Linked DNA regions of Homo sapiens: region 2 is linked to region 1. The links are contacts of gene promoters, found by promoter capture Hi-C in human tissues and cell types (Jung and others, 2019). All regions are on one chromosome and are shown on one strand. The core of a region is centred on a gene start or on the middle of the fragment in contact, and the rest is flanking DNA. Distances in the headings are between cores, read along the strand shown. Region 1 holds the start of ZNF235 (zinc finger protein 235). Region 2 has its middle 15 kb from the start of ZNF233.

Region 1 (3,433 bases), core at 563-3,062:
ATATATCTCTCTGTTAATTTTTATACTATTATATTGAAATAAAAGGCAACAACCTGGCATATAACAACATTCCAAGTGCCTTTCGTTCCCTTTTACTGTTCCCAAACAGGAAAAATGTGTCCAATCTTTGTGAAATGAGATGTCATTTTAAGAAACACAAAGGCAAACCAAACTTACCTGGAACTTGGTCATTTTTCCCCTCCTCCTTCTGGGAAAAGGCAGAGTTCCGGGGAAGTGAACCTGAGGGAGGGAAAGGCATCATGAGATAGGTTAGGGATGGCATTAGTCACCATGGCACTTTTATGTGACACTTCAGAGAAAGGTCCCCCTGTCTCTAGGCAGACACAGTTGCACACGGCTTAGTGAGGAGAACGGGAGCTAGCTCCCAGCTACCCCTCGGCCCCCTCAACCAGCTGCTTTTGTTCATGAACATTTCATATTAACAGACCTAAATCAAATACAGCTCTCTGTGTACTCCTTCTGAACTTTAGTTTCCAAGGAAATGAGACACAGACAGGCAGGGGAATGTAACAGAGCCAAAATGCCTGGCTTCAAATTTTGGCATTTCTACCTATTTTCAACTGATCAGCAGTATAAACCTTAAGCGAATTATTAATCTCTCTGTGCCTTAATTCAGTTACCTGTGAATGGGGACAATAATAATGCCTGTATTCTCTATTTCCTGCAGCTTCTGACAAGCAAGTGCTATTATGCTTCATAAAACTGCCCTTTTGAGTATGCTTTCTAGAAAATGAATCTTTTAAGAAACCCAGAACTCAAAAATAATTGCTCTGTCCTGTGAGTTACCATTACCCTCAGAAAAGTCTGTAACTGTGATTGGTTGTCTAACATAATTAGTTCCGTTGGTAATGATAGTTAAACTGCCACAGGTTTTTTTTTCCTCCAACAGATGTAATTACTTGCAAATGTTACTAAGCTGGAGGAGCCTCAAGAAAGTCTCTTTTTCCACATGCATGAAAGCAATGACTAATAAAAACCTAAAACTCTCTAAGAAATGGTGTTACACTTAAGTTAACCACACGGGATTATTGGTTATAACCACATTATACTGAACATTTATTAGGGCCTCAGGACACCTCTGGCACTCTGCAAATCCGTAATGACGATCGCTTATCTGAGATAAAACACACAGGACATTCCCCAGGCTCCGCTGGAACTAATTCCTGTCTCCTAAACAAGAGGCTAGAAAAGTCCAAGAATCCAGGAACGGCCCCACATCAGGCAAGGATTAGAGAAGGGACAGCGGCTCCGTAGCTGGATCTCCTAGACTCAGAGGAGTTTCCAAACAACAGGCGTCTTTTTCAGTATTATAACAGAATTAACGGTGGCATCCAACATTTTCCTATGCACTGGTTTTAAGCTTATTTCTATAAAACCTCATTTAATTCTCACAAGAACATCACTGGGAACGCACTAACCCTTTACAGGCACGAGGAAACTGAGACAAGGAGAGATTAAGTAACTTGCCCAATATTTTACTGCGAGGAGCAGGCAGGACTGGCTGGTAGGTGCGTGAGGACGGCTAGGGCAGCAGACCCTCAACCTCGAAGGACGACGCGAGCCCGCCTCCCACGCAAGAGGTTCTGCCGAGGGGACGCAAACTCCCGCAGCCTCCCAACCCCGCCCTCCAGCGCTGGCCGCGGCTTCTCTTCCCCAAGCCAAGGACGGGTTCATTGCTGGCCCCACGCCTAGGCAAAGAGGGCTCGGAGAAGTCTTGGAGACCCGGAGCTGACTCACCTCCCTGGGAGATATCTCAGATCCGACCTCGCCTTCCTGGAGCGGAAGTGCCTCCGAGTGCCCACGGTTCGTGGACTCCACTTCCCAGAATTCCTAAGCGGAAGCGTCTCAGAGTTCTCTCACTCCTGGACTACAGTTCCCAGAATGCTCCAAGGGCAGCGCTTCCCACCAGCTGGGCTTTGTTTTGACTCAAGCCGGTTGGGTTTGAGCCACTTCTCTGGTGCTACTACTGTGAGATTCGTTTTTGTTTTATTCATTTTTAAAAGCTCATGAGAAAATAATTGTAAAATTTTTAAAGTGATGACATATAAAAATGAAAAGTGCAGCTTGTATTATTAAAATAAGTTAGAAACCAAAATTTTTCGCAGAAGCAGAGGGTAGGCTAAAATGGGAAGCGTAAAAGTGACTTAGGCTGAGCTCCGATGGACGCTGAACGTTAAGGAACACCAGATCTCAAACTTGTGTCAAATGCCGGCTCCCCAAATATCATCAACTCAACCTGTTGATAAGACAAAAAACAGAATTTATTGTTGATTGCAGTAATGGAGAACAACACTTCGACGGAGCGTTGGCACCTTCACAGAGCAAAGTGTCAAGGCAAGGTTGGAACTGATTGAGAACTGGATGTTTAAGGCGGGTCTTTCAATGCAAGGGATTTTATTAGTATTGCATAATGATCATGATACTACAGTCCAGGATTGGTGGATATAGCAAGGATTTTTGAAGCAAAGAATCTTAAATTGCAATCTATTGACACTTTCTTTGGAAGAGATTGAAAATTTGATGGGTCTCTGTGGAAGTTCCCATAATGAACAATTAAACAGTTTGCTTGGGCAGGAATCTCCTGGAATAAAGGCCTGCTGATGAAGACAGCTGAACAATCATGTTAGTGCCGAAAGTAAATTGTGATGAAACGGGAAAAGTTCACTTCTCCCTCTCCCAGGGCATGTGATGGGGTGTGGCTCGCTTCTTCGTGCCCAGCCGCTCAAACCTCTAGGGGAGCATGCACACGGGCAGGTTGTAGGGCTCCAACCCCACGGCAGTGTCTAGGGGTGAATGTTTACAGCTCCTGAAGCCCCAGTGGGCGTGTGTTATAGGGTGCTTTTTTAGTTCAGCCATCTGTAGGAGGCTTGTGTTAGCTCAATTAGACCCCTGACTTATCGCAAGCAAGAGAGGGCTTTCTGTATCCCAGAGGTTCTTGCCTTGGTGTACCAGAAGAATCGCATCACACATAGGCTTGGAGAAAGAGTGCAAGGATTGGAGAAACCTTGGAGAACGATTTGTAAGTAGCTCTCAGCAGAAGGGGGAGCCAGAAGGGAGATGGTTTTCGCCTGGAGTCAGCCTCTCAGCGGCCTGGGCGCTCCTCCGACTACCCAGGCCAAACTGCGTTATTCCACCGGTTAATGGCCTGCTGGCCTGCCGGTCTCTTCAGTGTGCTCTTTTGCCGACCCGCTCCCCTCGACAGCCTCTCGACAGCCAGCTGTTTGTGTGTCCGCCAATGCTCTCCTCTCAACGTCCAGCAGCTTGTGTCTCTGCCTGCTAGGGTATCAGGGTTTTTATAGGCACAGGATGGGGGCGTGGTGGGCCAGGGTGGTCTTGGGAAATGCAATATTTGGGCACAAAGGCAGGAATGCCTGTCCTCACCTAGGTCCGTGGCCACAGGCCTGGGGGTAGA
Region 2 (3,433 bases), core at 455-2,954, 60 kb before region 1:
CAAATCGGTGTAGTTGGGATGCCCATCACCCCAAACATTGTGTTTAACTTTTTTTTGTGTGTTTTGAGACGGAGTCTTGCTCTGTTGCCCAGGCTGGAGTGCAGTGGCATGATCTTGGCTCACTGCAACATCGGCCTGCGGGGTTCAAGCAATTCTCCTGCCTCAGCCTCCTGAGTAGCTGGGACTACAGGCATGTGGCACCATGCCTTGCTAATTTTTTATATTTTTAGTAGAGATGGGGTTTCACCGTGCTGGCCAGGTTGGTCACGAACTCCAGATCTTGTGATCCACCTGCCTCAGCCTCCCAAAGTGCTGGGATTACAGGCGTGAGCCACTGTGCCTGCCCGTGTTTAACTTTTTAAGGAATTTCCACTCTTTTCCAAAGTGGGTGTGCTGTTTTACGTTTTCACCAGCAGTGTGCATCTTTTCTTCACATTTTCATCAAAATATGTAACGGTCGGTCTCTTTTAATTTTAGCCATTCTACCCTAGTAGTATCTCACTGTGTTTTTAATTTGCATTTTTCTAAACATGTTTTTCATGTGCTGTTTTCCATTATCATATCTTTGGTAAAGTCTACTTAAATACTTTGCCCATTTTTTTATTGGGTTACTTGTTTTCTTATTGAGTTTTGTGGGTTCTTTGTATATTATTGATACAAGTGCTTTATCAGGCATGTGATTTCCAAAATTTTTTCACTCAGTCTGTGGTTAAGCAGAAGTTTAAAATTTTTATGAAGTCTAGTTTATCATAATTTTCTTTGATGTATCATGCTTTTGGTGTCATATCTAAGAAACCTTTGCCTAATCCAAGGTCTCAAAGACTTTCTCCTATGTTTTCTGCTAACTTTATAAGTTTAGGTGTTTTTTTTTTTTTTTTTTTTTGAGACGGAGTCTCGCTCTGTCGCCCAGGCTGTAGTGCAGTGGCACGATCTCGGCTCACGGCAAGCTCCGCCTCCCGCGTTCACGCCATTCTCCTGCCTCAGCCTCCCGAGTAGCTGGGACTACAGGTGCCCACCACCACGCCCACCTAATTTTTTGTATTTTTAGTAGAGACGGGGTTTCACCATTTTAGCCAGGATGGTCTGGATCTCCTGACCTCGTGATCCACCCACCTCGGCCTCCCAAAGTGCTGGGATTACAGGCGTGAGCCACCATGCCTGGCCAAGTTTAGGTTTTACATACAGATGTATGATCCATTTTTAGATAATACTTATATATAATACAAAACACGTTTATTCATCTTAAAACTATGGATGTCCAGTTATGCCAACACCATTTGTTGAAAAAATGATCTTTTCTCCATTGAATTGACTTTGTGTCTTTGTCAAAAATCAATTGACCGTATATGAGTGGGCCTATTTCTGAACTCTCCATTCTAGCTCGTTGATCTTTTTGTCTCTTCACCATACACAGCCAGTTGTTCTTGATTACTAACATAGCTTTATAGTAATTCTCTCTAAATCAGGTAGCACGAGTCTTCCAACTTTGCTTTTTCAAAATTGTTTTAGCTATTCTAGTTCTTTTGCTTTTTCATGTAAGTTGTAGAATCATCTTGTTGATTCTTTTAAAGAATATTTGCAGGGCTTTTAATGGGAAGTGTGTTGGAAGATTTGACTTCTTTAGTCTTCCAATCAGTGAAAATGGCATGTCTCTTCACTTATTTAGGTCTTTTATTTCATCAGTGATTTGTATTTTTCAGTACACAGATATTGCCTGTTTTCTTAGACTTGTACTTAAAAAATTCCTGAAAATTTTGTTCTGTTGTAAGTTTCTATTTGTTCATAATAGTATATAGAAATGCAACTTATTTATATTAACATTGTATATTAACATTGCATCCCAGGACCTTTTGAAACTGATTTATTAGTTCTGGTAACTTTTTCATTCTTTATACATAATCATGTTGTATGCAAATGGAGACAGTTATTTCTTGTTTTCCAATATGTTTTCTGTTTCTTTGCTTGTTTCCCTAAGAGCTTTTTCTGCATCTACTAAGATGATTGAAGAGTTTTTGTTCTTTAGTCTATTAATATAGTGACTTAACATTCATTTTAAAATGTTCGAACAACATTGCATTCCTGAGATAAACCTACTTAATCATGATGTAGTATTATTTTCATATATTCGACTTGCTGGTATTTGTTGAAGAATTTTGTGTCTATGTTTATGAGGAATATTGATCTGTTGTCTTCATGCATTTTTCTAATTTTGGTAACAAGATAATGCTAGCCTTATAAAATGAGTTGGGAAGTGTTTTTCTCCTCTTTATTTTCTTCTTTTTCCTCAAAATGTTTGTGTAGAATTGGTAGTTTCTTTTCCCTTAAATGTTTGGTACATATAAGAGGCTTAGGCCTGGTGGTGGTGTTTCTGGAGGTGTTTTAACTTGAATTCAATCTCATTAATAGGTATAGGAATATTCAGGATGTCTGTTTATTCTTGAATAAATTTTGGTAGTTTTTCTTTTTTAAATACATTGTCTATTTCATCTAGGTTGTCACATATGGCATAAAGTTGTTCATAATATTTCCTTATTATCATTTTAATGTCATTAGGATCTGGCGTGTGTGTGTGTGTGTGTGTGTGTGTGTGTGTGTGTGTCTCCCAGGCTGGAGTGCAGTGGCACAATCTTGCATTCACAGCACCCTTTGCCTCCGGGGCAGGTTTAAGTGATTCTCCTGCCTCAGCCTCCTGGGTAGCTGGTATTTTTAGTAGAGAGGGGGTTTTGCCATGTTGGCCAGGCTGGTCTCAAACTCCTGACCCCTGAAGTGATCCACCTGCCTCAGCCTCCCAAAGTGCAGGGATTACAGGCGTGAGCCACTGCACCTGGCCTGTCATTAGGATCTGTAATCATATCCTTCTTTCAGTCCTACAATTGGTAATTTCTGTTTTGTTTTCTTGTTCTTTTCAAAGTTTATTGCTTTTTCTTCACTATTGTTATCCTTTTCGTTTGGTTGATTTCTGCTTTCATTTTTGTTGTTTTCTTCTTTCTTGCTTAGGGGTTTTTCTTTTTTCATAGACAGGGTCTCACTCTGTTACCCAGGCTAGTCTCAAACTCCTGGGCTCAAGCAGTTCTCCTGCCTTGGCCTCCCCCAAATCCTGGGATTACAGGTGTGAACCATTGCACCCAGCTTTTTTTTTTAAAGTTTATTAAGCTTAAAAAAGCTTAGATAATTGATGTAAGTTCCTTTTCTTCCAATATAAGCATTTCATGCTCTAAATTTTTCTCTAAATGCTGCCTTAGTGGCATTCTACAAGTTCTGATATGTTATCTTTTTATTTTTATTTCTTATTTTCCCTTTTCTCTTCTAACTCATGGGGTTTTTTTTGACCCATGGGTTATTTAATTTCTAAGGGTAGTGGGGGATTTTCCTGAGATTGTTTTGTTATTGATTCTCATTTAATTTTGTTGTGATATGAGAATATACTTTGTGT

What was found. The method cuts DNA at HindIII sites, captures the fragments that hold promoters and counts their contacts. A contact is called where the count stands out against the background at its distance.
Region 2: a contact is called between a fragment that was not itself captured here and the fragment with the promoter of ZNF235 in region 1, in 4 of the 25 tissues and cell types used here (lymphoblastoid cells, pancreas, stomach and 1 more).

What each region holds. Positions count from the first base shown.
Region 1 is chr19:44,303,213-44,306,645 of GRCh38, forward strand. ZNF235 (zinc finger protein 235) reads right to left here and starts at 1,813. Exons shown (of 5, transcript NM_004234.4): 1 at 1,759-1,813; 2 at 178-240. The coding sequence starts at 192. RefSeq lists enhancers at 1,596-2,149, 2,726-3,227, 3,228-3,433. The HindIII fragment of the contact is 12,168 bases long and covers 1-3,433 here.
Region 2 is chr19:44,243,175-44,246,607 of GRCh38, forward strand. No RefSeq gene overlaps it. Among named protein-coding and RNA genes, the nearest start is that of ZNF233, 15 kb to the right of the region's middle. The HindIII fragment of the contact is 6,215 bases long and covers 1-3,433 here.